Regions from separate parts of the Homo sapiens genome. Here all the other regions are linked to region 2. Evidence: promoter capture Hi-C in 16 types of primary human blood cells and fetal thymus (Javierre and others, 2016). All regions are on one chromosome and are shown on one strand. Each heading gives the region's core, a stretch centred on a gene start or on the middle of the fragment in contact. The rest is flanking DNA. Distances are from core to core; before and after follow the strand shown. Region 1 overlaps FAM193A (family with sequence similarity 193 member A). Region 2 holds the start of NOP14 (NOP14 nucleolar protein). Region 3 overlaps RNF4 (ring finger protein 4).

Region 1 (2,954 bases), core at 282-2,781, 330 kb after region 2:
CAAGTAGCTGGGATTATAGGCGCGTGCCACCACGCCAGGCTAATTTTTTGCATTTTTAGTAGAGACGGGGTTTCATCACGTTGGCCAGGCTGGTCTCTAACTCCTGACCTCAGGTGATCCAACCACCTCGGCCTCCCAAAGTGCTGGGATTATAGCCGTAAGCCACCACGCCTGGCTTATTTTTTTATTATCTAGTAAATTCAGTTGTTTCCCTTGGAGGAAGGAATAGTTAAGGGTATCTAGTCTGCTGGACCCCTAGAAATCAATGTGGGTATTTCTATGTGTAAAGGAAGTGAAAAAAGACACTAATCAAACAGCTTCTGGGTGTATGCATTTTTTTCAAGCCACAAGAAATTATTTCTTTTTTATTTTGTTTTGTTTTGTGTGTGAGACAGAGTCTCGCTCTGTTGCCCAGACTGGAGTGCACTGGCACAATCTTGGCTCAATGCAACCTCTGCCTCCCGGGTTCAAGTGATTCTCCTGCCTCAGCCTCCCGAGTAGCTGGGACTACAGGCGCCCGCCACCATGCCCGGCTAATTTTTGTTATTTTTAGTAGAGACGGGGTTTCATCATATTGGCCAGGCTGGTCTTGAACTCCTGACCTCAGGTGATCTGCCTGCCTCGGCCTCCCAAAGTGCTGGAATTACAGGCGTGAGCCACCGCACCCGGCCTCAAGCCACAAGAAATTATTTCTATGTCAACTGCTAGGAATTTGCTCTAATAAATATGGTTCAAATTAATTTTTGTCAGCTTCATAAAACAGTATCCTACAGTAACTATCTGAGGAGGTGCAGACCTCGCCAGCATTTTCTGGAGAGCAGCAACAGCTGCTGTCTTCACTACCAGAGTCTCTCTGGGCACCAGGTTTAGGTGGGCTGGAGAGCATCCTTCTTAACCTGAGCCAGTGTTCTTGTAGAAGACAGAGGAGGGGCTCTGGATTTGAACCTCTGAAGGGCAGGCAGACTCTCAGGTAGAGACGGGGAGGCTGTGCTGCGAGAGATGCCAGAGGAAGGACGAGGTACCAGAAGGAAGCCTGGTGGCACTACCCAGTGGACTCAGACCTTGAAACAGGATAACTGCCCCCCTGCCCCACCCCCACCCCTCACCCTACCCATTCACCTCGCTACCTCTTCTCAGAATAGATACCTCCCCATGGCTTGGCGCAGTGAAGCTTGAGGAAGTCTGTGAACCCCCTGAAATGACTTACAATTACATGTATGTAATTTTTTCTTTTCTTTTTGAGATAGGATCTCACTCTATTCCCAAGCTGGAGTACACTGGCTCACCACAGCCTCAACCCTGAGCTCAAATGATCCTCTTGCCTCACAGCCTCTTGAGTAGCATGCGTCATCACGCCTGGTTAATTTAATTTTAAATTTTTTTGGTATAGGTGGGGTCTCCCCATGTTGCCTAGGCTAGTCTCAAGCTCCTGGGCTCAAGTGATCCTCCCACTTTGGCTTCCCAAAGTGCGAGGATTACAGGTATGAGCCACCACACCCGGGCTGTATGTAAATTTTTCTAAGAGGGTCCATCAACTTGAGAATCAGATAAAGACCAAGGCCAATGCTTACTGTATTTGTTTCAAAATGTAGGTTTACCACTAAGAAAGCACCCAAAACTGATGCTCAGCCCTCTCGCCATGTGATGCCCTGTACCACCTTTGGACTCTGTTCAGAGTCCAAGTCCCCACCTGCAAGAAAGCTCTCACCAGATGTGGCCCCTCAAACTTAGACTTCTCAGCCTTCCTAACCATGAGAAATAAATTCCTTTTCTTTATTAAAAGAAAGAAAGCACCCAAAACTAGCACCCAAATACAGTTAAGTATTATTTAATAATAAAGTTTAAGTGATGAAAAACTCCATAGACTATTAGTAACAGTCAAGGAAGCTTTGAGGGCTTGTCTCTGGTCTCCTTCCAAAGCGTGGGGGCACTGAGGCTGTTGAGGATTGACCGCAGCCTACTTGTAACCATATTTCTATACCATGCTCCTTCCACCCAATGTAGTGATTCCTCTTTTGAGGCAACCGGACCCATCTGTGTGTCTCTTTTGTTAGGACTGTCAGATCCCCATTGGCAAGGATGGTGATAGGGCCTGTCTTGAGACTGCAAGCAGATCCTTAACTCAGTGCTGGCTTGCTGAGTGCATGCATGCCTGCATGAATGAATGAACGCCACTGGGCGGTAAACAAGCTGTTCTCTACAGCCTTCATGCTCTTCATGGGCATTTCACCTAATACCAGCTCTGTCTACAGCAACGAAAGAATGAACAACCTAAGTAAGACACCGGAGATTTCTCTGTCTCCTTATAAAGGCACACATCAGTGCTCCCCTCACACTGCCCCCATGCCTCGTTCCCTGGGCCTCAAGGTCCTCCAAACAGTACTACCATGAGGTGTCACCTGCTTATCAATCCACCCAATGCTTTTATCCAGTGGCAAAGTCCAGAGGAAAGACAAAGAGGAGAGGAAACAGGTCCTCTCCCGTAGAGAAGAGGGGCCTATCACAGTGTGTGGGGGTGTGACAGCGAGGTCGGCACACATGCGTGAGAAGCTTCCTCTTGCCACATGCTTCTCTTCAGCTCATCCAAACAGAAAGAAAAACACGTTTTCTCTCTTACCAGAGTGCCAAGGAAGGTGCTGATGGAGCGTGCGGCCTGGCAGAGGGCGCCGTACTCCTCAAGCAGGAGGGAGATGAACTGGTGCGCTTGCGGCGGGCCCTGCAGGCCAGATGGTGCCTTCACCTTGGCCGCAGCCGACAGCTGCCGGAGCAGGCGGACCTTCATCTCCAGCACATACTCTCGAGCTTGCTGTTCCAGACGCTGGTACAGCTGGTAGGGGTCCCTCTCGCAGAGCCTGCACAGAGAAGAGGGTCACCAGGGCCTGCCCACCAGGGCCCATGGGTGCTCTGATGTCAGTGAGCATCTTTTCTGAAGCCCTTCCACAGGTGGCCACCTC
Region 2 (2,700 bases), core at 105-2,604:
AGTGAATGAATGCAGTACTTATTACTATTTTTAAATTTCTGCCTCACTTTAATAATGATAAAAGGCTGAATTTTTGCCAACTTGTCCATCTGTGACCACGTCGTGCTAAAGCACACTTGACACACCATAGAGCCTCAGATCAAACCTCAAAACCAAGCAGCTATGTTAAAAATAACATTGCCCTACAATCATTATCGGAAGGTTCTCGCCCAGAGTAGTTCCCAGGCTGCTATTCTTTGTCCCCCTTAAGACCATAAAGACGCCGTTCTTTTTTGGTGGGACAGGTTGTCCAACACAAGCAGGACACTGCCTGCCGCATCCTGAAGCAACACTGTCACCGAGGTCACACCGAGAGGACAGGACAAGGACACAGGGCAAGACTAAGAAGAGCAAAGCGCAGACTTCTCTCATCTGGGCCAGGAGATGGGGACTGGGACCTGGCCCGGGCAGCCTGACCACACTGCACAGACCCCGGCTCCGGCTCCGTGCAGATCTGGGTTCCCCCAGTGGGAGGTGTCGGGGCTCTCCAGGGAAATCGGGGTTCTCCGGGGATGTCGGGTTCCTTCAGGGGGGCCAGGGTTCCCCGGGATTCGGGGTTCTCTGGGGGGGGGGTCGGGGGCGCCTGCCGCGCACCCACCTTGACGCGCTTTCAGCAGCAGCGAGTTGGCCACGATGTTCTCGAGCTCCATGTCCTGGCGCCGCCGCCGCCGGCGGATTCTGCGAGACCGAGGAGACTGAGGAGGCGGAACAGGAGGAGACGCCGCCGCCCCCGTGCATAGCTCGCCGGGCACCACCCTCTCCTCGAGCTCCGGACACGATCCCGGGAGGCTGCTCCGCCGCCACCACTGCCACCAAGGGCGCCGCCGCCGCCGCCTCCGCAGGCCCTCACCAGCAGGGGAGCGGTCGGGGCGAGGGGAGGGGGCAGCCCGACCGCGGCGGGTCCCAGCTGTCACCGCTGCCGCGCTATCGCCCCGGTTCTTCTTGGCCCCATCGCCCTCGCCTCGCGCGCGCAACTCCCTCCTCAGTGCCCTGCCCCCGGGCAGCCCCGAGTCAATGCCGTGGCTCACTTCGGACAGGGGCTCACTGGCAGGGGCGCCCGCCGCGGCCGGCGACCCGCTCCCGGGCGGGCTCGGCGCTAACGGCTTAGCTGAAGAGGGAGCGCCCCTCGCCGCCGCGGCCGGGGCACTACAGCTCCCAGAAGGCCCTGCGCCAAGAGTACACGGCGGGCCGCGGCGCGTGGCCTGCTGGGAGTTGTAGTCGCTGAGCCTATCGGCGAGTAAGCCGAGCCTGCGGGCGCGGTGTTTACTTCTCGCGAGTCGGAGGTGCTGCGCTGTTCTCGCGAGACGAGGAAGCGGTTCCGCGGCCCGGCACGTGTCTTAGGGTAGCGCGCGCCTGTCTCTCTTCGGGTCTCGGGCCCTTGGGCGCAGCGGGGCGCGCGCCATGGCGAAGGCGAAGAAGGTCGGGGCGCGAAGGAAGGCCTCCGGGGCGCCGGCGGGAGCGCGAGGGGGCCCGGCGAAGGCCAACTCCAATCCGTTCGAGGTGAAAGTTAACAGGCAGAAGTTCCAGATCCTGGGCCGGAAGACGCGCCACGACGTGGGACTGCCCGGGGTGTCTCGCGCACGGGCCCTCAGGAAGGTAAGCGGGGGGCGCACGGGGAGCCGGAAGGCAGGATCTGGACCCCACGCTGCTCTCGGCCGGCTGCGTCCTTCTCGGTGCGTCGGTTTCCTCGTTGAGCGGCACAGGCCGTGACAGGCACACGGCACTGACTTGATAGTCCGAAAGCCTCTGCTGTTCTCTGAGCTGGAGTGACCTGGAAACTCTCGCCGTCTTGGAGACCCTGCACTCGTGTTATTTCGGCGACTCCTCCAACCGGGTCAGGCCGAGTCAGTCACTTCGGGCGGCGCCCTGGACCAAGCTGCTTGTTAACCCTTCCGCGTTTACTTTGAGCTCTGCAGGTTTGGGGACGGTGGATAGGGGCTGTGTAGGATGCTGCGTTTGATGTTTCATCGGCTCTCTCCCGAAGCGCGTAACCTTGTTCCTTGGGAAGTAACTCTATGGAAACTCATTGCTTCCTAGTTTTTTTAACTTTTTTTTTTTTAAATTTTCACTGAGGAACATACATTAGCAGGTTGGTGAAAAAATTAAGGCACAGAAAGGACAAGTGCATTTCCTAAGGTCACGCACCTGGTAAGGGCTGGGCATGCATTCACATTTCAATATCTACAAAGCCTTCTTGCTACCCCGAGCGCTTCTGTTTGACCTCGCTTCTAGGTTCGGGGAGATAAAGGTAAATAAGACTTGCCCTTGCCTTCATGAGCTCCTGATCTCTGTTCATCACAGTGTGCAAGCTGGATGGTCTTTGAATCAAAACACATATTATCCTTACTGCGCGAAGACGACAGCCTGTATAATGAATAGGCAAGATAGACTTACAGCTGACTTCGATAGGAGTCCCTCATTACACACCCCCGGGCCGGGGTGGGAGAATAAGGTAGTGTGGTTCCCTAGAAGAGACACATTTGTCTTCACCACTGAAGCCTCAGTTTTCTCATTTCAAAAGTAGAGATGATAGTATACATCCTACCCCTCGTGGTGGTTTGTGAGAATTAAGTAAGATAGCACATAGAGCACACAGCAAGTGTTCTCTAAATACTGTTATTCTTAACCTTCTTGGCTTGTCGTTCGAGTCCCGCACAGTCT
Region 3 (2,951 bases), core at 215-2,714, 470 kb after region 2:
CCGGGTGTGGTGGCGGGTGCCTATAGTCCCAGCTACTTGGGAGGCTGAGGCAGGAGAATGGCGTGAACCCAGGATGTGGAGCTTGCAGTGAGCCGAGACTGCACCACTACACTCTAGCTTGGGCGACAGAGCAAGACTCTATCTCAAAAATAAATAAGTAAAAATAAAATGCCAGTTTGCAGGTATCCTAGTTATAAAAACAATATATGCAGAGCAAAGGGACTTAGGCCAGCCATCAACCACTTCTTGAGCAGGCAGAAGGGGAAATCCAATCTGGCCTCTGCCTATACCAAGCTCCAACACAGGGAGCTCTGTGGACAAGTTTGCCTTCTTGGGTGATTTCATGTCCTAATGAAAAACAGAAGAGGAAAGCGAAGTACTTTACAAGGTCCAGCAATTGGGGATGCAGTTTCAGATAGAAAAGGTGGGCTATCTCATTTGCGCTAGATTTTTTTTTAAATGGATCCTACCCCACTGCTGCACATTACCAGAGTTGAACAGTTAGCCCAGTTGAGAAGCTATTTCAGAATCTGTGAAGCTTTGAGTTGTACATGGTGAGTGTGAGACTGCATAGGCCTTCTAAAGACACTGAAAGCACCTTCTACTAGCTCACCCTGGTACAGTGTTCTCTCTCCACTTTAACACCCCACAGTTGTAGTGTCCCTGGCAATCTTACCAGTTTCCACGAGTTCTATGGGTTCTGCTTCCAAGGAGATCTCGGGGGTGGAGGTTGCTTCCCGAGTTCGCTTCTGAGCTTGTCTAGAATTTATTGCTCCACCACGACGCTTTCTCTGAGTAGCAAGGGGGAAAGAAGAGTCACATGAACACCAGAATGTCAGGGTTTCAGGAAGAACTAAATGGGCAATAGAAATGGTTCACTTCATTAAGAAGCCAGCGAGTAGACTTGAAGTTAGGGCTCCTTTCAAAACTTGAGATTCAAGAATACTGAATGCTTACGGAGAGAGAAACCATCCAAAACATAAAATGAGTAGAAATTCCAGAAAGTAAAACTTCTGTTTTATCAAACTATCAGCAGGTCGGCTGGGCATGGTGGCTCACACCTGTAATCCCAGCACTTTCGGAGGCTGAGGTGGGCGAATCATGAGGTGAGGAGTTCAAGGTCAGCCTGGCCAACATGGTGAAGCCTCATCACTACTGAAAATACAAAAGTTAGCTGGGCGTGGTGGCAGGCACCTGTAATCCCAGCTACTCCAGAGGCTGAGGCAGGAGAATCACTTGAACCTGGGAGGCAGAGGTTGCAGTGAGGCGAGATCGCGTCACTGTACTCTAGCCCGGGTGACAGTGTGAGACTCCATCTCAAAAAAACTATCAGCAGGTCAAAAGGGACACGATGCATCCCTTTACAAAAGCTTGAGGCCAAGTCAGGATTTGGACTTGGTAGTGGATGCCCTGGCCAAAAGGCTGGAAACTCTTCCCTTTAACCAAAAGTTATCAATTTCTCTTCCTTGACTTTGTGTTCAGCCTTTCTGAGCCCTTTTTGTTTCTTAGCATAAAGAACTTGGAGTTTTCTGAGTTTCTATACATTGTGGAAAGCTTATCTTCCCCTGGGAAATGTGGCCTTGAACCTTTCAGGGCACTATCAACTGTGATTCACACCAGACAATCACTCCCCACAAAGAACTCAAAGAACCAAAGCTGTTTTAAGCCTGTTCCCAGTGGCTACCCAAGAGCCATGTCTTCCGGAAAGTTCAGGCTCTCAGCTGGTTGATAAGCAACTGACACTCTGACCAGCCTTTCTTCCAAATCCTTAGGCTGCTGGTTTGCCAATATGCTCCAGCATTTCTGGTCTGCCTGGTCCCAAAAGACAAGCTGAGAATATCCTCCACCTTAATCAAGAGACAGAGCTGGCCAGGCGCAGTGGCTCAGGCCTGTAATCCCAGCACTTTGGGAGGCAGAGGCAGGCGGATCACCAGAGGTCAGGAGTTCAAGATCAGCCTGGGCAACACGGTGAAACCCGTCTCTACTAAAAATACAAAATTAGCTGGGCGTGGTGGCACATGCCTGTAATCCCAGCTACTCGGGAGGCTGAGGCAGGAGAATCACTTGAACCTGGGAGGTGGAGGATGCGGTGAGCCGAGATTGTGCCATTGCACTCCAGCCTGGGCAACAAGAGTAAATCTCCATCTCACCCCCCCCCAAAAAAAAAAGAGCTTCCCAACAGAGCCTGTCACCTTGTATTCCCACTGGTGTTTCCGTGCTCTTCTCCCTGTGCCCTGTCCTGCTATCCTTTGCACTGGACAACCTGGGACAAGTACTGCACTACTAAGTCTCAAGTTCCTCACCAGTACCAGCCTTGCAGAGCTGTTATAAGGTCTAAATGAGATCATGTATGTAAAGTACTGCGCAGAGACGGAAGATGCTACTACTATCCCAATTCCTTAGCCTTACTAGGGTCAATCTGTCCCAGGAAACTCTGAAAGGACCAGATATTGCAGGAGAGATTCATACAAGATCCAGGAACACCCACCATCCAGCCAAGCCCTCGCTAGGCAACAGGGATAAGCCTGATTCTGTGTTCCAATGCTACTCTTATCAAATGGCAGCTTGAGATGTTTTGGAAATGAAGCTGGGTCTAGTAACTTCCCACGGACTAAGGAGCACAGAACCAGCCCCAGGAGGGCCCAGAGGCCAAGCGACAGCAGCCAAAACTCCCAAGTGAGCAGCTGCTCTTGGCCTCAAGGGAGCTGACACTAACCTCAGTGGAGTTCTACTGCCCAGTGTTTTAAGGGTTTCCCCAGCAGCCACCAGGTTGCTTATGTAAAAAGTAAAGTAGAGGTTCCTCTTCAAAGACTTTCCTCCCCATCTAATTAGAAATAAATAGTAACTTCTCTTAAAAGCAAAATTTATTCAAAGACCTGTACTAACATTCTTAAATATCTGCTAGCCATAATAAAGAAATCAATGTACTTTATATTCTTAGCTCCCACAAT

What was found. The method cuts DNA at HindIII sites, captures the fragments that hold promoters and counts their contacts. A CHiCAGO score of 5 or more calls a contact.
Region 1: a contact is called between a fragment that was not itself captured here and the fragment with the promoter of NOP14 in region 2, in 1 of 17 cell types (naive B cells). The highest score is 5.4, in naive B cells.
Region 3: a contact is called between a fragment that was not itself captured here and the fragment with the promoter of NOP14 in region 2, in 2 of 17 cell types (naive B cells and total B cells). The highest score is 5.0, in naive B cells.

The regions. Positions count from the first base shown.
Region 1 is chr4:2,630,833-2,633,786 of GRCh38, reverse strand. It overlaps FAM193A (family with sequence similarity 193 member A), which reads right to left. Exons shown (of 21, transcript NM_001366318.2): 5 at 2,618-2,852. Among named protein-coding and RNA genes, the nearest start is that of FAM193A, 96 kb to the right of the region's middle. RefSeq lists enhancers at 2,294-2,793, 2,794-2,954. The HindIII fragment of the contact is 716 bases long and covers 1,174-1,889 here.
Region 2 is chr4:2,962,060-2,964,759 of GRCh38, reverse strand. NOP14 (NOP14 nucleolar protein) reads left to right here and starts at 1,354. Exons shown (of 18, transcript NM_001291978.2): 1 at 1,354-1,635. The coding sequence starts at 1,441. It overlaps GRK4 (G protein-coupled receptor kinase 4), which reads right to left and starts at 1,189. Exons shown (of 16, transcript NM_182982.3): 1 at 638-1,189. The coding sequence starts at 689. RefSeq lists silencers at 517-566, 737-1,166 and enhancers at 629-1,162, 1,163-1,696. The HindIII fragment of the contact is 6,609 bases long and covers 1-2,700 here.
Region 3 is chr4:2,494,847-2,497,797 of GRCh38, reverse strand. RNF4 (ring finger protein 4) reads right to left here. Exons shown (of 8, transcript NM_002938.5): 3 at 677-791. Among named protein-coding and RNA genes, the nearest start is that of RNF4, 27 kb to the right of the region's middle. The HindIII fragment of the contact is 184 bases long and covers 1,373-1,556 here.